4 separate regions of the Homo sapiens genome follow, and regions 1, 2 and 4 are each linked to region 3. Evidence: promoter capture Hi-C in 16 types of primary human blood cells and fetal thymus (Javierre and others, 2016). All regions are on one chromosome and are shown on one strand. Each heading gives the region's core, a stretch centred on a gene start or on the middle of the fragment in contact. The rest is flanking DNA. Distances are from core to core; before and after follow the strand shown. Region 1 holds the start of ZC3H10 (zinc finger CCCH-type containing 10). Region 2 overlaps ERBB3 (erb-b2 receptor tyrosine kinase 3). Region 3 holds the start of ANKRD52 (ankyrin repeat domain 52). Region 4 has its middle 3.2 kb from the start of GLS2.

What was found. Contacts are between HindIII fragments. The CHiCAGO score rates a contact against its expected background, and 5 or more counts as called.
Region 1: a fragment that was not itself captured here is called in contact with the fragment with the promoter of ANKRD52 in region 3 in 11 of 17 cell types (naive CD4 T cells, naive CD8 T cells, activated CD4 T cells and 8 more); the score reaches 11.5 in naive CD4 T cells.
Region 2: a contact is called between a fragment that was not itself captured here and the fragment with the promoter of ANKRD52 in region 3, in 1 of 17 cell types (activated CD4 T cells). The highest score is 5.2, in activated CD4 T cells.
Region 4: a contact is called between a fragment that was not itself captured here and the fragment with the promoter of ANKRD52 in region 3, in 2 of 17 cell types (naive B cells and M1 macrophages). The highest score is 7.6, in naive B cells.

Annotation. Positions count from the first base shown.
Region 1 is chr12:56,118,025-56,120,724 of GRCh38, forward strand. ZC3H10 (zinc finger CCCH-type containing 10) reads left to right here and starts at 242. Exons shown (of 3, transcript NM_032786.3): 1 at 242-294; 2 at 1,064-1,127; 3 at 2,487-2,700. The coding sequence starts at 2,539. The HindIII fragment of the contact is 696 bases long and covers 967-1,662 here.
Region 2 is chr12:56,101,683-56,104,382 of GRCh38, forward strand. ERBB3 (erb-b2 receptor tyrosine kinase 3) reads left to right here. Exons shown (of 28, transcript NM_001982.4): 28 at 1-1,823. The coding sequence ends at 373. LOC105369782 (a long non-coding RNA gene) reads right to left here. Exons shown (of 2, transcript XR_944995.4): 1 at 2,606-2,700; 2 at 2,132-2,236. Among named protein-coding and RNA genes, the nearest start is that of PA2G4, 1.5 kb to the right of the region's middle. RefSeq lists an enhancer at 2,572-2,700. The HindIII fragment of the contact is 842 bases long and covers 830-1,671 here.
Region 3 is chr12:56,257,106-56,259,805 of GRCh38, forward strand. ANKRD52 (ankyrin repeat domain 52) reads right to left here and starts at 1,279. Exons shown (of 28, transcript NM_173595.4): 1 at 1,138-1,279; 2 at 723-806; 3 at 178-256. The coding sequence starts at 1,164. RefSeq lists enhancers at 1-281, 588-637, 718-767 and silencers at 828-897, 918-1,467, 1,478-1,537. The HindIII fragment of the contact is 14,479 bases long and covers 1-2,700 here.
Region 4 is chr12:56,489,992-56,492,691 of GRCh38, forward strand. No RefSeq gene overlaps it. Among named protein-coding and RNA genes, the nearest start is that of GLS2, 3.2 kb to the left of the region's middle. The HindIII fragment of the contact is 1,138 bases long and covers 683-1,820 here.

The DNA of each region.
Region 1 (2,700 bases), core at 65-2,564, 140 kb before region 3:
GGGTTATTAGGGGCCAATGCTGGTACCGCCCCTTTCCAGGAGGGCTGCCTTGGCGACTACCGCTTAGACCATGTCGTGCCTTTGGGTTGGGTTGCCATAGTGACACGCAAAGCGTGCTGGGAACGCCCTGCGGCATGTCGCACGCGTACTTCATACACCATAGAGTATGGTTCCGGGTCTGCTGGCTAGAGCGTCACTTCTTCCGCAGGAAGCGGAAGAGCGATCGGGTAGGCGGCTCTTTGTCGAAGCTAGAGGACCGGCAGGCGGCAGCAGCAACTACGGCGGCGGCGGCAGGTGAGGGAGGCGGGAGACTTAGGTGGAGGCCGCGCCCGGAGGGGAGGAGTCGGGGCCGGCCCAGCGGCTGGGCTCGGCCAGGCCACAGAAGGCCCCCCAGAACCGAGCTGGCTCGTCCTCACACCCCAGGGCAGTGCCCCTTTTCTGAGTGACCCCGCATCGCGAGCAAACGCCAGCTTCGTGACGTCACAACCCTGCCCATCCCCTCAGCTTGATGACACCTGGAGCTCCAGCTCCCCGCTTCACTTCGCGCGCCCTTAGTGTCCCATTCACGTAGCCCACGGCTGAGCGCCGGCGGCACTGCACGGAACCTGCCAAGCTAGAAGACTTGCTGCGGGAAAACTCCTAGGACTTCTTTCGCAAACTCTAGGGTGTTGGGAAGCGTCACAATCACTGCCTTCAAGTCTAATCGGCCATCCCAATGCACTGTCAGACGCTGCCTTTTTGAGGTTCCTCACTAGCCATTACTAACTCCAGCCCTTGGCGGTGCTCTGACCCTCACATCCTCTTTCATCTTGAGGCAGGGCGCCCCGCACTCTTTGTTCACTCAGGGCTGGTTTTCCAACCCCTCCTCCCAGTCCCTCCGAATTAGTTTTACTCTTCTTACTGGCAACTTCTCCCTTGGACAGGTGAAGTTCAGTTTGAACCCTGAGGAAATCCTCACGTTCTCGAAGCTTTGCCGTTTTGTCAGATTTCTTGTGACAACCACCCCATAGTCCTCCACTCTTACTCCTTCTTCCACCCAAGTCTCTGTTTTTTTCCTGCTCAGAACCCAGCAGTGATGTGGAGGTGGAGACCCACAGGAGCCCCGGACTTCACCTGAGCTACCTCAGGTATCAATTCTGGGAGAGTGGGGTGGGGAGGAGCATCATAACTAATTATCTGCTGCTGGTGCGACTTGCAACGTGAGCCAGGCTTGGATAGATGGCATTTGTACTTCACCTGGTCATTCCCCTTTACTAAAAGTTTGTATCTTCTTTTACCACTTCTTTCCTTGATTGCTTCTATTATTCTGGGACTACCTCTCTTTAGAGGAGGAGGACCCTCTTACAGATTCTCTTGTAACTCTGGCCTCTGGTTTGGTTAGTTCATTTTAGGGAGATCTGAAGGCAAAGTCACAGTAGTGGGGTGGGGGTAGGTCAAGGCCAAAGGAATTAGGAAAGATTCCCTTATTCTCAAAGGGAACAATATGAAGTTTTCCTATTTCAGCAGCAGGGGGAGCCTGAACACCGCATAGGAAAGGCTTGGGAGGTCAGACACGTGGTAGCAGGGACTCCAGGTCTTACTGGGGGTGGAGAGAGGGGAGGGCTAGAACCAGGGCAGTGGACTGACATTCCAAAGCTCTCTTGGGAAATAGGAGACTTAAAAAGCTTTTATGGAGTCTATAAATAAAGAGGATCTTTCTGGGTTGAGGAATGGTGTGGTTGGATGTCAGTGGGATCTTCACATAGGGGAGTAGGAAGGGGGTGGGGAATGGGGAAAGGTCACTTGTTCCTGTGAAATTAACTCCTTCCCACTTGACCTTATCACAAATGGTTTGTCCTAGGAAATCTAGAAGTGGAGACTCTAACTTAGAACTCCTATCCTGAAATAGAAGGGGCTTACCTCTCTGCCGTTGACAGTGATGATGGCTGGGAGGGAATACTAAAATATGACAGGTTTTGAGACTCCCCTCAAGCTGGTGACACCAGTCTCTTCACCCAGGATTTCTTGGCTTCTAGAGATTTGATGTGTACAGAGCCCTTACCTGAGGAAAAGGAAAGGGGGTTAAGGAAGTTTTGTTACCAGTGTCCCATCTTCTACAGCCCTAGTAGCTCAGTAGCCCATCTTGGGCACTATTCCCAGTTTCCTTCCAGACTATTCAGATACTGACTGCAGTTTTAATTTCACTTCCACAACTTTAATAAGGTCAGCTCAAAAGGAAAGATGAATTCCAACACTATTTTTTCCCTGCTCCGTCCTGGGCCTATCCCTCCTCCGTTAGCCAGGCAAGTGTGAATCATTCTGACCCAGACCAGGTGCACAAAACCCTGGGAGGGGCTTTTGATGAGTCAGACATTTCAGCCAGAATTCTTATCCCTTAGATTCTCCATCTCTAAAGCCATTGCCCCTCTGGGCCACCTGCTTTATAGTCAGGAAGAGTGGGATCTCCCTGGAGGACTCCTGTTTGATACAGTTCTCCTCTTTTGTAGTGGTCACCAAGAGTGGCAAGATAAAGAAAACCCTGAGTTGGGCGGGACCAGGATGCCTGACCGGGACAGCTATGCCAACGGTACCGGGAGCAGCGGTGGAGGCCCTGGAGGTGGTGGCAGCGAGGAGGCCAGTGGGGCAGGGGTAGGCAGTGGCGGGGCCAGCTCAGATGCCATCTGTAGAGACTTCTTGAGGAATGTGTGCAAGCGAGGCAAG
Region 2 (2,700 bases), core at 1-2,500, 160 kb before region 3:
GCTGGGTTATGAGTACATGGATGTGGGGTCAGACCTCAGTGCCTCTCTGGGCAGCACACAGAGTTGCCCACTCCACCCTGTACCCATCATGCCCACTGCAGGCACAACTCCAGATGAAGACTATGAATATATGAATCGGCAACGAGATGGAGGTGGTCCTGGGGGTGATTATGCAGCCATGGGGGCCTGCCCAGCATCTGAGCAAGGGTATGAAGAGATGAGAGCTTTTCAGGGGCCTGGACATCAGGCCCCCCATGTCCATTATGCCCGCCTAAAAACTCTACGTAGCTTAGAGGCTACAGACTCTGCCTTTGATAACCCTGATTACTGGCATAGCAGGCTTTTCCCCAAGGCTAATGCCCAGAGAACGTAACTCCTGCTCCCTGTGGCACTCAGGGAGCATTTAATGGCAGCTAGTGCCTTTAGAGGGTACCGTCTTCTCCCTATTCCCTCTCTCTCCCAGGTCCCAGCCCCTTTTCCCCAGTCCCAGACAATTCCATTCAATCTTTGGAGGCTTTTAAACATTTTGACACAAAATTCTTATGGTATGTAGCCAGCTGTGCACTTTCTTCTCTTTCCCAACCCCAGGAAAGGTTTTCCTTATTTTGTGTGCTTTCCCAGTCCCATTCCTCAGCTTCTTCACAGGCACTCCTGGAGATATGAAGGATTACTCTCCATATCCCTTCCTCTCAGGCTCTTGACTACTTGGAACTAGGCTCTTATGTGTGCCTTTGTTTCCCATCAGACTGTCAAGAAGAGGAAAGGGAGGAAACCTAGCAGAGGAAAGTGTAATTTTGGTTTATGACTCTTAACCCCCTAGAAAGACAGAAGCTTAAAATCTGTGAAGAAAGAGGTTAGGAGTAGATATTGATTACTATCATAATTCAGCACTTAACTATGAGCCAGGCATCATACTAAACTTCACCTACATTATCTCACTTAGTCCTTTATCATCCTTAAAACAATTCTGTGACATACATATTATCTCATTTTACACAAAGGGAAGTCGGGCATGGTGGCTCATGCCTGTAATCTCAGCACTTTGGGAGGCTGAGGCAGAAGGATTACCTGAGGCAAGGAGTTTGAGACCAGCTTAGCCAACATAGTAAGACCCCCATCTCTTTAAAAAAAAAAAAAAAAAAAAAAAAAAAACTTTAGAACTGGGTGCAGTGGCTCATGCCTGTAATCCCAGCCAGCACTTTGGGAGGCTGAGATGGGAAGATCACTTGAGCCCAGAATTAGAGATAAGCCTATGGAAACATAGCAAGACACTGTCTCTACAGGGGAAAAAAAAAAAAGAAACTGAGCCTTAAAGAGATGAAATAAATTAAGCAGTAGATCCAGGATGCAAAATCCTCCCAATTCCTGTGCATGTGCTCTTATTGTAAGGTGCCAAGAAAAACTGATTTAAGTTACAGCCCTTGTTTAAGGGGCACTGTTTCTTGTTTTTGCACTGAATCAAGTCTAACCCCAACAGCCACATCCTCCTATACCTAGACATCTCATCTCAGGAAGTGGTGGTGGGGGTAGTCAGAAGGAAAAATAACTGGACATCTTTGTGTAAACCATAATCCACATGTGCCGTAAATGATCTTCACTCCTTATCCGAGGGCAAATTCACAAGGATCCCCAAGATCCACTTTTAGAAGCCATTCTCATCCAGCAGTGAGAAGCTTCCAGGTAGGACAGAAAAAAGATCCAGCTTCAGCTGCACACCTCTGTCCCCTTGGATGGGGAACTAAGGGAAAACGTCTGTTGTATCACTGAAGTTTTTTGTTTTGTTTTTATACGTGTCTGAATAAAAATGCCAAAGTTTTTTTTCAGCTTCCTGTCTGTCAAATGAAGACATTTCGTATGTTAGATAAGAGATCTGCTCCTCAGCAGTGGATACTCACCTTTCTGTGTTCTGACAGTGCTACTCTGTCCCATGCAGCTTTCTCTAGTCCTACTATTACTTCTATTTCTTTAGAACAACCATAGCGCATAGTCCTTTTCATTAAGGGTTTTAGTAGGAATCTACAAGGCAACCAATTGGGAATAACAAAAAGAACCTACGTGCTTTAGGACTTATAAAAAGCCCTATAAGCCCTCCTTCAGAGGCCAAACACTGAAACCTCCAGATGCTTCTGAATTCATTATCTTAGAAAAGTCATCAAATCTTTTTATTTTTTCACGGTAAGAACTCTCAACAAACATGTCTTTCTGAACACTTCCCTTAGGTGCTCCATCCAGGTGCCTGTTATTGGAACAATAAAGTCATGTTACTTCATTAGGAGTCCGGCCTCTAGATTGCGAGGCCTTTAAATGGATGATCCCTCCGGTGTCTGGCTGCCCAGTTAGCCCCCGTTACCAGCACCCTTGGTCTTCTTCCACCTGTCTGCCCCTCCCTGTTCTCCCAGCTTCGGAGGACGACTGGACCGGCTGGGCGGGTTTCGCCAGCCGACCCAGGGATCCGAAGAAGGGCGCACCCAGCCTCCCCGACCTAGGTGTAGACACTGCCCACCCGCTGCGGCTCCACTCTACTCCACCCCTGCCCGCTCGACTTTAAACCTATTTCCCCGCCGTAGCTCCGCCCCTCTCCCCTCAGCCCGCCCCTCTCTGTTACTGGCTCTCGCTCAGCGTTCTCGGTGGAAGTGGTTTTTCCGGGAGAGACCACGCTTCCCCTCAAGCTCCCCAACGGCTCCGCCTTCCCGCCGGAGC
Region 3 (2,700 bases), core at 29-2,528:
ATTTTGATGGAAGGTGGGGAGGAGGTATGAAGGAAGCCAGTAATCAGGCCAGGAAATCTGAATGGAGCTGGAGCCTCGCCTGGACCAAGCCGGGGAGAGCAATCCTTGAATATCAAAAAAGACTCCTCCCCTCCCTTCGCTCCCTATGTGCCACACCTTCCAGCTCCCCACTTTCACCTGACATCAGTAGCAACTGGAGGATGGGGACATCGCCTACGTAGGCAGCAGCATGCAATGGAGTTCGCCTCTCTTGGTCCTGGGAAGGCAAAAAAGAGCAGGGAGTATGGGCGCGGGGTAAGGGGGCTATCAAGGACCCCAGCCCAAGTCTCAGAGCTCCAGGCCCTTCCCCACAACCTCTTCCCATAGTTTCTGCAGCGTCCTAAGTCCCGGTATTGGGAGTCAAAGGCAAGCACCTAGGGAGGGTGGAGTCAGGGCCAATGGGCTGAGAAGCCGGCTCCTTTTTCCAGGAGGGGTGGGGGCGCTGCAGACTCCGGAGGTTGAGAAGAGAACAACGTTCCTGGGCATTCCCAGCCCAAGTGATCTGGGCTTCAAGCCTGACCTGCTCTCCATCCCCAAATGCAGAGTAGGCTTTCACTCCAGGATGGAAAGAACTGCGGCCTCATCTGAGCAGAGGAGACACGGAGCCGCCCCACCGGTGGGGAGGGGTCCAGAACACGGGAGCCAGGATTCCGGTCTCGCCATCCTCCCTGCTCCCAACTCACCAGCACATTGATGTTCTCCTTCTGCGAGAGTAGGGAACGCACTTCCTCCACATCTCGGCTAAAGATGGCCTGGACCAGGGGCGGCTGCAGAGAGAACCGGCATTCTGAGAGCGGGCTGGAGCCGGAGCGGAACCGGTGTGGGGGTGGGGGTGGGGGAGCACCTAGGTTTGAGTGGGGGGCGTCCGTGGAGGGGCTCCACTCTAGGGATTCTGGCTGGAGCGAGCTCCCGCGGTGCCTCCGCCGGTTGCCAGGTCCCCAAGGACACCGGCTCGGTTGAGGGGAGCGCGGCATGGGGCGGGGCGGGAGCTGCGGGAGCCCCGGGCTCAGGCCCAGCCTAGGCCGCACATCCCCGGGCTCGCGTGACGGCAGCGCCGAGCCCTGGAAGGAGGAAGCGGGAAAGGGCAGGAGGGCTGACCTGGTCCGTGATGCTGAGGATCCCCATGGCTCGGCCCGGGCTCCGTCCGCATCGAGCTCCCGGCGGCGGCGGCGGCGGCTCCACCGGGGACACGGAGCGGCCCAGGCGGCGGCTGCGGTGGCGGCTGCAGGGAGAGCGCGGCCCCGCCTACCGGGGGGCGGGCGAGTTGGAGGCCGCAGCGCTCCCTGGCGGCCGTCCTGGTCCCGGCGCTCCCCGCGCAAACGGACCCCGGCCGCAGCGCCCTCCGCCCCACCCTGGCGGCCCCAGCAGCCCCTGCACCCCCGAACTCGCGCGCCGGCTCCCCGGCTCACGCAGCTGGCCGCGCTGTGCTCTCCGCTCCAGTCTGGCGGCCCAAGGGGTTCCCCACAAGACCCTAGCGGAAACCTGGGCCTTAGTCCCGCGGTGCTTCCCAAACTGAGGACCGAACGGCTGGCCAGATCTTACCCAGCCCACAATGCTCCCGCCCGAGCTAACTCCTCCCGTCAGCGATTCCACACCCCGAAATCCCCCACAGACTAGGAGGAACTGGCGGGTGGAGAACTGGGAATTATGTATGGCAATAGCCCCAGAGGGAGGGAAAGCGTGTATCTCCACTGGCGGAGGCGTGAGTTCGGTAGAGAAGAAATAGCAAAAGTGCTCAAACTGCAGAGAAACCCCAAGGAGGATTCTACTGCAGAAAACACCCACAAAGAGGCCATGACAACTGGCAGCTGGAAAAGGCCGCCAAGACCAACAGAAGGGGCATTTTCCAACTCCTTACTGATTCCATTGCAAGGTTAAAGTGGAAAACACTCAACAATTTCTCCCCAGAACAGCCTGTGGCGCTTCCCCTCCTCCAATGGAGAGGCCAGAGAGCCGTCAATTAGAGAAGAAATGAATGGAGGTCATCTCAACCCAGAAACGGAAAAAGGAGGAAGACGAAAAGTGGAGATTGAAAAATTGATACAATTTATAAAAGGTGATCCAGGGTCCTGTTCAGAGTTTCACAACTCAATACACATTGAAGAGAACACGAAATGGACGAAGTGCAGCATGCTGGCGTCCTGTCAAGGCTTTATATATAAAAATCCTCCCTTGAGGGGAGAGGAAAAAAATTAAAAAATAAAAATACATTTTATTTTATTTTTTGAGATGGAGTTTCACTCTCGTCCCCCAGGCTGGAGTGCAGTGGCACGATCTCGGCTCACTGCAACCTCCGCCTCCCGGGTTCAGTGATTATCCTGTCTCAGACTACCAAGTAGCTGAGACTACAGGCGCCCGCCACCCTGCCCGGCTAATTTTTTATTTTAGTAGAGACGGGGGTTTCACCATGTTGGTCAGGCTGGTCTCGAACTCCTGACCTCAGGTGATCCACCTGCCACGGCATCCCAAAGAGCTGGGATTACCGGCGTGAGCCACCGCACCCGGCGAAAATACATTTCAAAAAAGCCTTCCCGGCCGGGCGCGGTGGCTCACGCCTGTAATCCCAGCACTTTGGGAGTCCGAGGCGGGTGGATCACGAGGTCAGGAGATCGAGACCATCCTGGCTAACACAGCGAAACCCCGTCTCTACTAAAATACAAA
Region 4 (2,700 bases), core at 2-2,501, 230 kb after region 3:
GGCAGTTCTCCTTTGCCTTGGTTAGGGTTGGAGGGCTTATTTGGCTTAAAACCAGATGGAGTGACATTTGTTTTTGCTTGTTTTCGCCTTCTGTAGTCATTCTGTGTCTGCTGTATCTGTTCTCCTGTCCGTGGAAAGCCGTCTAATTCTGGGAGGGCTTGCTGCTTTATGCTTGGCTTTGCCCAAGAGGCAGAGTTCTGGGTCTCAATACTTAACGTAAACTCAATCCTGCATTAGTTTTTTTCATACGTAACAGACGAATCTTATCCTTGTTTCATAGAAATATGATTTATCTGAAACGTTTTGATCTATTCAAGAGAAAAATACCATCTGTTAGGGAATTTCTAAACATTACCCAGAAGTAATTTGCTTCCTTTTTTTCCTATTTCTGCCTCTTTGAATTAGCTTTATACTCTAATGAGTTCCTTACTCTCTTTCTCCCAGCACTCTTCCACTAATAGGAACTGGTTGGGTAGTGAAGAAGATCTATGCATGGAAGCAGAGGTTCTTTGCTTAGAGAACTAGCTCCAGCTGCACTTGGACCTTTGGACTAACTGTCTCCAATACAATATTGCTGTCTTTGCATGAGGATGGAGCATGAACTGGTGACTTGGGAGGCCAATGGTACTGTGTAAAGTATAAGATGCTGGAGAAGAACAAGTTTGTTGTCCCAGGTGGTTAAAGCTTGGCAGGGTCAGGTCCTCTTTTTGTTTCTAATTTGAAAAATACTCATCATCTAGTTTAATTTGTGCAAAACTATTAGCCAACTATGACAAGGGCAGCTAGAAATGAAGATTTTCATAACTGAAAGAAAGTTCTTTGTGTCTCTAACAGTGGGCTTTTAGGTTAGTCCATGGCTGTGCCAGAGTTTTGTGGTATGTGAGAGAGGATTAGACTTAATGATTTTGAATCCTTAATAAAAGCTAAATCCGGGCCGGGCGCGGTGGCTCATGCCTGTAATCCCAGCTGCTCAGGAGGCTGAGGCAGGAGAATTGCTTGAATCTGGGAGGCGGAGGTTGCGGTGAGCTGAGATCACGCCATTGCACTCCAGCCCGGGCAACAAGAGCAAAACTCCGTCTCAAACAAAAAAAAAAAAAGAAAAGAAAGAAAGAAGGAAAAGCTAATCCTCTGTGATAGGAAATTGATGTTTGGAGTTTGTTTATTTCTTATGATTTAGAGACTCATTTGTTCTACTCTATTTTGTGTGTGTGTGTGTGTGTGTGTGTGTGTGTGTGTGTGATGGAGTCTCGCTCTGTCGTCCATGCTGGAGTGCAATGGTGTGATCTTGGCTCACTGCAACATCCGCCTCCCGGGTTCAAGCAATTCTCCTGCCTCAGCCTTCCGAATAGCTGGGATTACAGGCACCCGCCAATATGCTCGGCTAATTTTCGTATTTTTAGTAGTGACGGAGTTTCACTATGTTGGCCAGGCTGGTCTCGAACTCCTGACCCCTTGATTTGCCCGCCTCAGCCTCTCAAAGTGCTAGGATTGCAGGTGTGAGCCACCGCACCTGGCCTGTTCTACTCTTTAGACTGTAGCTAGGATGTTAATTGGTCCAAGTAAAAGATTAGTTCATTTTTTTATTAATCTTTGTTAATGATACTATTGTTACAAACTCCTTTCTGCCTTAGTTTCTCCATTTGTAAAAGATAAACTTGTATTTTACTGGGTAAAATGTAAGTACTTGGGGCTCTGACATAATGAGCTTCCATTCACTCAATTAATATTTATTTGTTGGCATTCAGTGTGCCAGGTCCAGTGCTGGAAAATCCAGAAATTTAAAAATTTAATAAACCAGTTTCTACTGGGAGAAATGAGAAAGCTTATGTTTAAAATTCCTAATGAAAAATGCTGTGATGTAGAGACATGCAGAAGAAAGTATAAAGGGGACATCTAACTAAGCTGGGGGTGAAGGGCCACTGGGATAGAAGAGGAATGGTGACTGACAGGAGCTGGTTTTTAAAGCACGAGAGGTGTTTCAGACAGAGGGCTCTACAAGAATAAACATAGCCTGAGAGGAACATTTGAGGGACTCTACCTCTAGTTTGGTTGGAATGAAACGTGGGTATAAGAATGTGGACCAGCCGGGCGTGGTGGCTTATGCCTGTAATCCCAGCACTTTGGGAGACTGAGGTGGGCAGATCACAAGGTCAGGAGTTCGAGACCAGCCTGACCAACACGGTGAAACCCCATCTCTACTGAAAATACAAAAATTAGCCAGGCGTGGTGGCATGCACCTGTAATCTCAGCTACTCAGGAGGCTGAGGCAGGAGAATCAGTTGAACCTGGGAGGCAGAGGTTGCAGTGAGCCAAGATCGCGCCACTGCACTCCAGCCTGGGTGACAGCGAGACTCCATCTCAAAAAAAAAAAAAAAAAAAAAAAAAAGAATGGGGACCAATGAAACTGAGGATGTAGGTATGGGATGCATGTTTTAACTTGATGCTAGACTTTCATGGAGTAAATGAAATTTAATAAAAGTTTAAGCGTGTCTGTGATCTACTCCAGTGTGCTTTCCTAATTCTTCTTTGGTTTAGCAATAACAAAATGAACATTTATAGGACTGAAAAAATATAAATATAAGCCTATTAAAAAACATATCATCACACTGGTCCATTTACGATGCCTAACATGCATTTTCTCTATTTTTCCAAATAATATCTTGTATAATCTGGGTTCTCCAATAGCTATTAAAGTAGATT